3 separate regions of the Homo sapiens genome follow, and regions 2 and 3 are each linked to region 1. The links are contacts of gene promoters, found by promoter capture Hi-C in blood cells and fetal thymus (Javierre and others, 2016). All regions are on one chromosome and are shown on one strand. Each heading gives the region's core, a stretch centred on a gene start or on the middle of the fragment in contact. The rest is flanking DNA. Distances are from core to core; before and after follow the strand shown. Region 1 has its middle 12 kb from the start of VEGFA. Region 2 holds the start of SLC29A1 (solute carrier family 29 member 1 (Augustine blood group)). Region 3 holds the start of CAPN11 (calpain 11).

Region 1 (3,954 bases), core at 456-2,955:
GATATGAGTGTTTGTGGGAAATACCGAGAAAGACCCTTTCCTGGTGGGAGGGGATGAAAGGGAGCCTCAGCCCTGGGCTCCCCCAGCCTGACTCCAGGGACTACGGAACCATGTTGGTGCAGGGCCTGAGGCCTCCACTATGACATTAGCTTGGGCAGGGGAGCCCAGAGCCACTGTTTGAGGTGAGATAACACACACCTAGCCCTGGCCCCAGGCACTGGGGAGGGTAACAGGACAGAGATCATGAGGAGTAAGGGTGCTTGCTTCCTTCCCCCAGACTCCTGGGCTGCCCAGACCACCCCTGCTCTTCCTCTGGGTGGAAGCCCCAGACCTCCCCAGGGGCAGCAGGTAAGGCTCTAGGGAGACATCTATCCTCGCTCTACTCGTGGCCTGGCCCTGGGGCAGGTGGAATAATTCTGTGACTCATTCCACAGTTACTCCTCCTTCTCTTCCAAACCCAGGAATCTGGGAGATAAGGAAAAGGATGAGCAAGAGAATGGGTCCCCTTTCCCCATACTTTAGTCAAAAATAATGGACCATTTGAGGCAAGGCCAGTTACTTCGATGGGGGCCAGGTGAGCAGGTGTGTTGTTATGCAAATGAGCTTATGCATATGTATTATGAGGAAGGGTGGGTCTGCCCTGCTTACTCCCCTCTGGAGGCCCACACCCCAGCACCGAGTCTCCCCGCCCAGAAAGGTTTGTTAAGTGATTCCACAGCCTCTGTCCACTCTGGCCTCTCCCCCAGGCTGTCTCCACACCACCATCCTCACCTTTTTCTATGTGTCCTTCCCTACCAGGAGTTGAAGATTTCTTCCACCGTCTCCCAGGTTCTGCCTACATCAACCCCGATCACAGCCACCTTGGGACACAGCTCCTCACACTTCCTCCCCTCCTGTCCTAAAGGTCCTCAGGGATGTCTGGCTCTCTAGAACGGGGCCACAGTCCCCCAGGGCTGGCAGGGGCAGCCTCCAGGCTCCTCGAAGCTGCCCAAGAGGGAGGTAGGAGTTGGAGAGGGGCTGTCCCACTGGCCTGGCTGGGTGCGGGTTAGGGAGCCCCTTCTCTGGCCCACAGGAGGGAAGACCCGCAACACCCAGACAGAGGTGGGCGGCCTTGAACCCCCTTCTGCCTGAGACGACAGAACAACCTTGCTGGGCACCTTCCATCAGTGGGCTTCAGATGTAGCTGTTGCCCAACCGTGGCCACACTCCAGACATTCTCTGGAAGCCCAGGGCCCCCTCCTCAGTCAGGACCCCTCCCAGGTACCTCACCTAGTGCCACCCCGAGCCTCTAGAGGGCGAGGGAGAGCAGTGCTGGACTTCCCAGCCTCTGGGGCATGCCCAGGAGGCTTTCTGCACAGGCCCCTGGTCCCTGAGGAGGGGGCACCACGCCGGAGGCTGTCTATCCAGACTCACCCTCTAGGAGCAGAGAAGTATGAGGTATGAGCCAGGGCTGGGACGGGGACTGCTTGGAGGATTCAGGGACAGAAAGGTAGGCTGGACTGTGGAGGACCCTGAAGAAGGGTAGGTTTGAGTGGTGGAAATATTATCTGAGTAATATTCAGATAATATGCTGAAATACACTGTTCATTTGAGTACAGAAAGGAGAGCAATGGCTTCAGCCTCAGGAATCTCTGCCTGACCTTGGAAGAGAAAGAGACTTCTTGGCTCACATTGCAAAGCACCACTACCCTCGCCCCATCCAGGGTCAGAACTAGGGAGAGGCAAGCGAGGCAGCTAGGCGAGGACCAAATGTAAGGAGTAAGGAGCTGCTCACTCTTATAAGGGTCGTGCAGGTGCAGCGCAGGCCCTAAGAGTGAGTACCTCCTTAAACACTGCACCAGGCCCCGCCCTCTTGGGAGCCTGCCTGGGGACTAAAGCTGCAGGGACATTTAAGACAGAGTTGGGGTGAGGAGTAGGGTCACTTTTTCACACTGGACCCCTCAAAGGAAAGAACTAGCACCTAACTCAACTAAAGGAGAGTGGGGCCACAGATGAGGTGAAACAGACAACTGTCTTGGCCGCGCCTGGGCTCTGTGTGTGTGTGCCTGTCTGTGACAGTGTCTGTGCGTGTAATTTGTTCATTCAGATTGTGGATCTCCCCACTTCTAGCTATCTGTCCCTGGGCAAGTCATGCAACCTCTCTAAACCTGAGTTTCCTTGAAAACCCATGCTAATAATACCTATACAGGGTTCTTGTGAGGATTGAATGAGATAATATATGGAAAGGGTGTAGCAAGAGCACCTGGCCTGTGCATAGCAGGAACCAAACAAATGGTAGTTTCTATTCCCATTATTATTCATAATATGATTGTGTGTGGCCCCTTCTTTCCCCTGCCCCCTTACACATCCATCCCACTCCAGCCAGCCAGGTCTTCTGACAGCCCCAAGCACAGGTTGCTCATTTCTTCATCCTGGTCTATACAGTGCCAGCCGTGAAGATTTGCCTCTTAAAACATGAAGCCTTCTTAGACCACTTCTGCTCAGCAGTCTCCCCTAAACTCCTACAGCATGAGCTGTCTATACCTCTTCATCCAGCCTCAAATGCTGTCTGATGTATTTAATTTTGTAAAGGGGTGTGTGTGTGTGTGTGTGTGTGTGTGTGTGTTATCTTTCTCCAAGTGCATTCACAGAGAGAGTGTATTTTTCAGTGATCTCTTACCCCATACAAGCCTAAGGACTAATACAGGCCTGCAGGTATAGACATCCACATGTAGACTTCTTTTCTTTTTTTTTGTTTTTGTTTTTATTTTTGTTTTTTGAGACAGGGTCTTGCCCTGTTTACCAGGCTGGAGCGCAGTGGCATGATCTCAGCTTACTGCAGCTTCGACCTCCTGGGCACCTCAGCTGCCTGGGTAGCTGGGACCACAGGCATGTGCCTCTATGCCTGGCGAATTTTTGTGATTTTGTTTGTTTGTTTTGCAGAGACAAGGTTTAGCCATTTTGCCCAGGTTGGTCTCCAACCCCGGGGCTCAAGCAATCTGCCTGTGTTGGCCTCCCAAAGTGCCGGGATTACAGGTGTGAGCCACCATGCCCAGTTTACTTGTAAACTCTTTATGAATGAAAATAATAATGGTGACCGGGCGCAGGGGTTCACGCCTGTAGTCCCAGCACTTTGGGAGGCCGAGGCAGGTGGATCACCTGAGGTCAGGAGTTTGCCAGCCTGGCCAACATGGTGAAACCCTGTCTCTAATTAAAAAATACAAAAATTAGCCAGGTGTAGTGGCAGGTGCCTGTAGTCCCAGCTACTCGAGAGGCTGAGGCAGAAGAATCACTTGAAGCTGGGAGACGGAGGTTGCAGTGAGCCAAAATCGTGCCACTGCACTCCAGCCTGGGCAACGGGGTGACAATTGGTCTCAAAAAAAAAAAAGAAAATAATAAAGGTAAATACTGTCTGGGATCATATCCCTACTGTGTGCCTTATGTTATCTCATTAATCCCAACAATAGCCCTGTGAAGTAGATTACAATTATAAAACAAAGGCCAGGAGAGTTTAGGTAACTTGCTCACAGTCATACAGCAAATAAGCAATAGCGCTGGGATTTAAACTCAACTCTCTCTGGCTCCAAAACCAGCACTCTTAACCACTATGGCTTGAATACAAGAATGAACAATCAACAAACCAAAATTTCCTTTCTGTACTCAAAGAAAGAAAGAACCAAAAAGCAAGCAGATATCAGAACTTCAGTCAAATGCTTTCAAGGTTTCAAATCAGAATCTGTTGGGGTTCAAGTTCAGAATGTTCTGCTGTTCATATTGAGACCAGAGCCCCCACCTGGTCATTACACCCAGATGGTCTCAGAGGCACCCAGAGGGTCCTGCCTTACTCAATAGGGTTTTAGACCATTTTTTCAACAAATGGGGTTGAAAAAATATTCATCCCAGAGTGAGTCAGAAAAATCACTTACTTTGTTCAATTCCCAGAATGTTCCTGTCGACCCTAGCTCTATTTTAACT
Region 2 (3,954 bases), core at 1-2,500, 470 kb before region 1:
GATACCAGCTCAGAGCATCTGGTGTCCCTCCAACTATGCCTTGGCCTGCTGAGGTGGGCCCCTGAAAGTAGCCACCAAATTGAGTACCTCCCTGCCTCCAGACTCCCAACACCTCTCCTGCAATTCTCCACTCCCAGGATTTCATATGGGGCTAGCCACTACCTGCAGATCTCTTGTCTTTTCTTCACAACCACCCATAAGCTAGTACTAGCACTGAATAGATGGGGCCAGCTGAGGTTCAGAGGGGTTGAGTCACTTGCCTGAAGTCACAGAGCTGGTGAGTGGAGGAGCTAGAATCCATATTAAATGTTCAAGCTCCTTTTGGAATGGAGAGAGGTATAAAAGCTGCTTCTCAGTTAGCCCTGTAGACTGGGAGGTGGGGGGAACTCTGATTCAACTAAAGGGAAAAATGAGGTGGAGACCAAGATCATTCCCAGCCTGACTTGAGTGTCAGGCAGCTCAGCCCCGCCCCATCACACACATCCTGGCATGGGGAGCTTACACAAGCAGGAGGAAAGTTGGAGGGTCTGGAGGCCACCGAGAGGAGTAGGCAAAGGGACTACCACAGGGCTGCAGAGAGACCCCTAGAGGTGTGAGGGCAGGGTTGGAGCCAGCCTTGACCTACGACTGCTCTCTCCTGGTAAGCAAAGCCGAGGACTGTTTGTCTTCACCCTCTCATATACCCTCACAGTAAATCAGTAAATGAAGACGTGCGCAGGAAGGAGACGCCAGGGATACGAGTTTAGCCAGTAAAAGACCGGGGTTAAAGAGACAGCCCCGCACCTCCGCTCGCGAGCCTGCACCTCCGCTCGCGAGCCTCCATCCCCATCCCCATCCCCATACCCCTCCGCCAGCGCAGTCAGCGGCACGGCCCCTCCCTGATACCGACCAGATCGATGGGGATCACCCGTCCACTCGCCTGCCCCTTGCGGAGGTCAACGTGACCGCAGCCTGTTTTAGGCCCGGGAGCCAGGCCGCCCCGCCCAGCTTGGGTCCCGGTCCCCGCAGGGTCCTCAGGCTCCCTGGCCCGTGCGCGCCACGTGCTGCGCGGCTCCGCACGCTCCGCACTGGGGCCCCACCCGGCGTCCCTTCTCCGGGCTGCGGAGCCGTCAGGCCCGCCCTCCCTGCCCTCCGTGGCAGGCGGGCAGCGGCGTCTTCCGCCCCGGCAGTCCCCAGTCCCCAGTCCCCGGCCCCGGGCAGCACCTGCCGCAGAAGCACTGCTCCCGCGCTGAGATCCGCGCGCTCTCGCTGCAGCTTCCCTCTCCCGCCGGGGCACATTCAAACCCGCCCTCCGCTGAGCTCGCCCCGCCCTGCGCCCACTGCCACCTCCCCGACGCCCGCGGCCCCGCCCCCGGCCCACCCCTGCCACCCCGCGGCGACTCCGCGCGCTCCGCCGCTCCCACCCCGAGCCCCTGCGCCCCCAGGGCCGCCTGGTCGTGTTATTGCGGTAGATAGGACCTCTTTGGGCCCTGCCACACCAAGGCTGTCTGTCCATCGTGTGGGGTACATGGGGCTGGAGGGTACAGCCACACATTAAGGACCTGCGCAGACTCCCATAAAATTCATCTCGGGACTGTTCCATTTACACACCCGCTGCTCAGACCGGCCCCGACGCTCCACGGCCCACTCCACCTCAGATATTCCGTTATCCCTTCCCAAGCCCTGCCCACGCCGCGCTTCCTCCACACTGCACCTTTTTCCTCCCAGCGCCCTCCCTTTCAGCGCCCCCTTCTTTCTTTCAGTCCCCCTCCTCTTCTTTTCCTTCAAAACTGCTTCTGTCCCCACCGCGCATTTTCTGTGACCAGCATGATGGGTTTTCCCATCCCTGACACATCCAGTCCCAGCCACAGACGCGCAAACACCACCCCACTCACAACTTTGACTTGGAGGGGGTATGTGCCTCTGCCTGTGCTTGCGTGTGCGCGCGGAGGGGGGTGGGGCAAAGCCCTCCAGCTCCCTCATAATTCACCCTTTCTAAATCCAGCACTTTGGAAAACTGAGGCACAGGTGGGAATGGGAAGAGAAAAAGCTAGGAACAGCCTTATATCCTCAGTGAATCCTATTGTCCCAGCCATCCTGACAGGCGGAAGCCTTGCTGAGTATGTCTTTCACTAGCTAAGGAGGAAGGTGTGGGCGTGCTGAGGGGTGGTCCAGCAAGTCCCTCCAAGGGAGGGGGAGGGAGGCCCTCTCTTTGGTCGGGCAATAAATGGGGTGGGGTGGGGGGCACTCCCTGCCCTTCCAGCAGTACTCAGTGCTAGAGGATGATCCTAAGGCTGGAAAGGTCCTGAGGAGAAAATCCAACCCACGCTGCCCACCCCATGCCCACTGACCCGAAGGGCTTGTCCCCTAGAGAAGCCACAGACACTGATTAACAACTGGCAGTACCTCACATCATAGGGATAAGGTAGTCCTACCCTGTCCCCAGAGAAACAGACAGGGCCCTAAGGAGAGAGGTGGCTTTTCTAATTAGGGTCAGTGGCTCTCCCCAAGCTACTCCAGAATGGGTGTCCCCAGCCTTCTGTTTCCATGCCCCACAGAGATGACACACATATTCCTTCCCAACCCTCCCCCACCCCACCCCCATCCCCCACATCCCCGCCAGCCCTAACCAGAGGGCAGGAAGATGGGTTTAGGTGGTATTTTTCCAGGCACAGCCCCATGACTTGAGAGTGGCTTCATGTCTGTCCACAACCCCCTAATTCCTGCCCTCATGTTTGTCCAGTCTCTCTCTCTTCCTCTCCTAGCCCTCCTCTGCCCTCTGCCTTGGCCCCCTTCCTCGCTCCCCACCCTCCTTTCCTGGTCTCTGGGTCTGTGGGGGTGGCAGGGCTAGTGGTCAGAAGATCTGCCAGGCATGGCAAGGCTGGTGGCCAGTGGCTGCAGTTGTGTACAGAGGGGGCTGGAGGTGGAAGAAAACTGGAGGGAAGTGGTGAGGGTCTCAGGCCAGACTGGGAAAGGCTGGTTCCTCTCCCCACCCAAACTGGGGCCCTGCCAGCTCGGTGGATGGCAACAGCCAGGGCTGTTATTGTTGGAGAGAAGTCCGTCTGGCATCCATCCTGCTGGGCCCCTAGCCAACACCCACACCCCTCTGTAGCCACCTCCCAAGCAGAGGTTGCTGGGTGCCAGGGCCCCCTGCTGGACAGCCTGGGAGCCCCAACTTACACAGGCCTTGCCTGGAGTTTTTCTAGCCAGGCCTTGCCAGCTCTCTTCAGTCTCTGCCTGGTCTTCTGGCTTCTCTCCCTCCCTGAGCTCCCTCAGGTCCCTGTCGAAGGGGTGGGGTGGGAAGGGTTGGTCCTGCTGCACCTCTACTCTACACCTTATTCACCACCCTATATGGGACCGTGGCTTGGCCCAGACTCCCTCCCCAACTTGGCAGGCCCCATGCATGCCTCACCACCTCACACACAGTCCTCTCTCTCCCCAGGCATGTGTCCTCTCAGCTGTCACCAACAAGTCATGTGTGTTTGCTGGAAGTGTGTTTGCTTGGCCTGGGGGTTGGTAACCAGCACATGTCTCATGACTGTCTGTGTTCTCAGTTGTGTTTGTGACTGTATCTCCATGGCCTTGTGACAGGGCTGGGACTAGGGAGAGGCCAGTGAGGCACTTGCCAGGGGTGTAAAATGTAAGGGGGAGCCAAAAAACTCATGAATCAAGATAAATTTTAGGCCAGGAGTGGTGGCTCATGCCTGAAATCTCAGCACTTTTGGAGGCCGAGGTGGGAGGATCACTTGAGCCCAGGAATTCAAGACTAGCCTGGGCAACACAGTGAGACCCCATCTCTACAAAAAAAATTAAAATAAATTAGCCAGGCATGGTGGCTCGAGCCTGTGGTTCCAGGTACTCCAGAGGCTGAGGCCGGAGGTTCACTAGAGCCCGGGAGGACAAGGCTTCAGTGAGCCATCATCCTGCCATTGCACTCCAGCCTGGGCAACAGAGCAAGACCTTGTCTGAAAACAC
Region 3 (3,954 bases), core at 864-3,363, 400 kb before region 1:
CTATGATAAAGTTTAGTTTATAAATTAGGCACAGTAAGCAGTTAACCATAATAAGTAATAAAATATAACAAATACAACAATACAATAACAGTAATGTGAATGTGGTCTCTCTGTCTCAAAATATCCTGATGTTTTCAGACTGCAGTTGACAGCGGGTAACTGAAACTGCGTGGAAAGCAGGGGCTGCTGCATGTTAAAAGGCATGAATGGACAGGAAGCTTTCTGCTGCAGCTGCACATCCTGTCTCCTCCATCAGACTGAGAACCTACAGATCATTTTGTTGTTGTTGTTGTTGTTGTTTTTTGAGGTTTTTTTTGAGGCGGAGTCTCACTCTGTCGCCCAGGCTGGAGTGCAGTGGAGCGATCTTGGCTCACTGCAAGCTCCACCTTCTGGGTTCACGCTATTCTCCTGCCTCAGCCTCCCGAGTAGCTGGGACTACAGGCGCCCGCCACCACGCCTGGCTTATTTTTTGTATTTTTAGTAGAGACAGGGTTTCACCGCGTTAGCCAAGATGGTCCCGATCTCCTGACTTCGTGATCTGCCCGCCACGGCCTCCCAAAGTGCTGGGATTACAGGCGTGAGCCACTGCGCCCGGCCAGATCGTTTTTAACTAAATCAGTTTTATTTTATTGACAAAAAAAGTATATATCTGTTGTATACGACATGGTGTTTTGAAATATGTATTCACTGTGGAATGGCTCAGTTGAGCTAATTAATATCTGCATTACTGCACATACTTGTTATTTGTTTGTGGTGAGAACACTTAAAATCTACTGTCAGTGATTTTCTTTTTTTTTTGAGATGGAGTCTCGCTGTGTCGCCCAGGCTTGGGGTGCGGTGGCACGATCTCGGCTCACTGCAACCTCCACTTGCTGGGTTCAAGAGATTCTCCTGCCTCAGCCTCCCGAGTAGCTGGGATTACAGGCGCCCGCCACCACGCATGGCTAATTTTTGTATTTTAGTAGAGACACGGTTTCACTATGTTGGCCAGGCTGGTCTCGAACTCCTGACCTCAGATGATCCACCTGCCTTGGCCTCCCAGAGTGCTAGGATTACAGGCGTGAACCACTGTGCCTGGCCTCTCTCAGTGATTTTCTAAATGCAATACATTGTTATTAGGGGACTATAGATTTAAGGACAGTTTGATTTCCGGCACTGGGAAAAAACTAAGATGTTGTGTCAGGGAACTTTAAAAAAAAATAAATACTAATAAGTAATAATAATAAATAAATAAATTATATTTTGAGATGAGGTCTTGCTATGCTGACCAGGCTGGTCTTGAACTCCTGGGCTCAGGGCACTTCTGAAGAACAAGGACTGGGTTTGGGGTCACCAGCTAGGCCTAAACTTCCTAGGGTCAGGTAAACAGGGAGGGCCTGAGAAGCTGGGAGGCTGGGTCTAGGGGCCCATGGTCTCACGGTGCCCCAGGCTGAGGGTGAGGTACAGGGCTGACCTTCTGCTGGCCAAGGCTGGCTGCCCTCTGTGCACCCTAGCCCCACAGGAACAACTCAGTTCTGCCCAGCCCTCCCCTTCCCCCCAGCCCACTCTCCCCCATCTCCTGGAGTCTGGTCCCAGGCTTGCCTCAGGTAGTCCTGCCCCTGCCACCCTGAGGATCTCATCTTCCTGGGCTGAGGGACCTGCTTTTCTAGGCTTAGGAGAGGTTCTCTCTGTTCCCTAAAGTTTTCTTCTCTACGTGGGCTTTTTCACACAAACCCTTTTCCCCAGCAGCCATGACAGTGGGATGGCCGGCCCCTCTCCTCTCCCCAACTCCAACTGTCAGTGGAGAGGAGAAAGAGTTCCTGCCCGGCCTACCACCCAGTCTGACCACCAGTGGCCTATCCTTCCCCAAACAGTCTGAGAACGAGGCCCAGGTCCTGTCCTTAGGGAGCATCCAGTCTGATGGAAGAGTCACTCTCTGTACCCTCAAGGGGCATCCAGTCTGATGGAAGAGTCACTCTCTGTACCCTCAAGGGGCACCCAGTCTGATGCGGGACACAGCTCCTCCCCTGGGGGGAGGCTCTAGCCTGCAGGAGGTACAGGAGTGGGGCAAGGCCCCATGAGTGCCTACCTGGGGAGTACAGCATGCTGGTGGCTAGCTCGGTGCTTGACAGTTGAAGGTTCTGGTGGGAGGGGGAGAAGAGACCCTCCCCCCAGAACTCTCTCATTGCAGTGGGATTCCTAGGTCAGCAGCCGGTTTAACAGCTGCCTTCCCTTTTCTCCTTCTCAGTAACCCAGCCCCTTACCCAGCTGAGGGCTACCCGCTTTAGGGACAGATGACCCAGCACCCCTGCCTTGCACAGCCTCCACCAGCCTGGCTGTCCTCACTGTATCACGGTCATCCCATCAGGGTAGGTCCCAGTCCCTTTTTTTCAGCCCAAGGTTTCCAGGAAGGGGTTGTCCCTGACACACCAACCTGACCTTTACATCCAGAAAGCCTTCTCATTCCCAAAAGCCCCTTTCTCACTGACATGGCATTTTTCCTGTGTTGCTGTCTTCACATGGCACCCTCCTCTGTGTCTCTTCTTCTTATAAGGACACCAGTCATATGGGGCTAGGGTCCCATGCATTTCAGTATGACCTCATCTTAATTGAACGAATTACATCTGCAACCACCCTGTTTCCAAATGAGGTCACATTCTGAAGTACTGGGGGCCAGGACTTCAACATGCCTTTTTGGGGGACACGATTCCACCTGCAACACTCTCCTTGCCTAGCCCCAGTCTGGCAAGGTTAGGCCACTGGTCTGACCACATGTCCTGCCTCTGCACTGGAAAGTGGGAATGCTTTGAGCTAAGAACTCTGCTCCAGAGTGCAGTCTTCTCTGGAGTGTATGATGGCTGAGGACAGGGACTGTCAAGGTCATCCCAGTGCCCCTCAGCCCTGCCTGGTGCTAATCAGGCACAGAACAGGTGTGAGAGCACCCAATGGGATCAGAGAACCTTGTTCCAAGCTCTGAAACAGGAGCTGACCTTGGGCGAGCCCTCCCCCTTTCTCCTTTCTGGGACTCAATCTCCTCATCTACGAGAATATTAATTATGGTTTGTTATTATGTGCCAAACACTGGGCTAAGAACTTCCTACTTATTTAATCCTTAAAACAGCCAGAGGCCATGACATTGCTATTCCCATTTTATAGATGAGGAAAGTGAGGTCTAGAGGTATGATGCAACTTGCCCAGGGTCACACAGCTGTTAAGCGGTCGAGCCAGGATTTAAACTAATAACTTCAGATTTTTTTTTTTTTTTTTTTTTTTGAGATGGAGTCTCGCTCTTTTGCCCAGGCTGGAGTGAAGTGGTGCAATCTCAGCTCACTGCAACCTCTGCCCCCCGGGTTCAAGCGATTCTCCTGCCTCAGCCTCTCAAGTAGCTGGGATTACAGGTGCCCACCACCATGCCCAGCTAATTTTTGTATTTTTAGTAGAGACGGGGTTTCGCCATGTTGGGCAGGCTGGTCTCGAACTCCTGACCTCAGGTGATCACTCGCTTCGGCCTCCCAAAGCGCTAGGATTATAGGCATAAGCCACCGTGCCCGGCCATAACTTTAGCTCTTATCCGTATCTTCTGCTGCCCCCAGCTGTGAAAGGAGGAAGTGGTCTTTGGGGATCCTGTGGTCTCCCCTGCCCACTCCTGATTCCACTATTGCACCTCTTGGATGCCTCTAATGTGATCTGCCTGGACATGAACTCTGTGACGAGGTGCCAGGGGTAGGGTGCAGGCAGGCACGGGTGTTCCTCTCTATTACAGCCTCCCACCCTGGGGGAGGGCTGTCCTCAGGACTCTTGCTCAGTGTGCTGCTTGGGCATTATCTGGAGTTTCACATTTGGAAATGCTGGAACCTGGCTTTGAACTTCAGGCCCTGCAGGAAAGGGAAGGCATGCTGGGCAGATGAGGAATGAGAGGGTCTCGGCTAACCAGAGGTGGGGGCTGAGGTCTGTCCAGGCCATGCTTTGCAGACA

The links. The method cuts DNA at HindIII sites, captures the fragments that hold promoters and counts their contacts. A CHiCAGO score of 5 or more calls a contact.
Region 2: the fragment with the promoter of SLC29A1 here is called in contact with a fragment that was not itself captured in region 1 in 2 of 17 cell types (erythroblasts and total CD4 T cells); the score reaches 7.5 in erythroblasts.
Region 3: a contact is called between the fragment with the promoter of CAPN11 here and a fragment that was not itself captured in region 1, in 13 of 17 cell types (naive CD8 T cells, activated CD4 T cells, naive CD4 T cells and 10 more). The highest score is 9.9, in naive CD8 T cells.

The regions. Positions count from the first base shown.
Region 1 is chr6:43,756,026-43,759,979 of GRCh38, reverse strand. No RefSeq gene overlaps it. Among named protein-coding and RNA genes, the nearest start is that of VEGFA, 12 kb to the left of the region's middle. RefSeq lists enhancers at 1,376-1,435, 1,051-1,587. The HindIII fragment of the contact is 9,019 bases long and covers 1-3,954 here.
Region 2 is chr6:44,220,891-44,224,844 of GRCh38, reverse strand. It overlaps SLC29A1 (solute carrier family 29 member 1 (Augustine blood group)), which reads right to left and starts at 1,250. Exons shown (of 13, transcript NM_001372327.1): 1 at 1,204-1,250. RefSeq lists enhancers at 171-320, 563-1,421 and a silencer at 1,011-1,410. The HindIII fragment of the contact is 15,932 bases long and covers 1-3,954 here.
Region 3 is chr6:44,156,979-44,160,932 of GRCh38, reverse strand. CAPN11 (calpain 11) reads right to left here and starts at 2,113. Exons shown (of 23, transcript NM_007058.4): 1 at 2,069-2,113. The coding sequence starts at 2,084. It overlaps LOC107986599 (a long non-coding RNA gene), which reads left to right and starts at 2,330. Exons shown (of 3, transcript XR_002956350.2): 1 at 2,330-2,348. RefSeq lists an enhancer at 767-936. The HindIII fragment of the contact is 9,288 bases long and covers 221-3,954 here.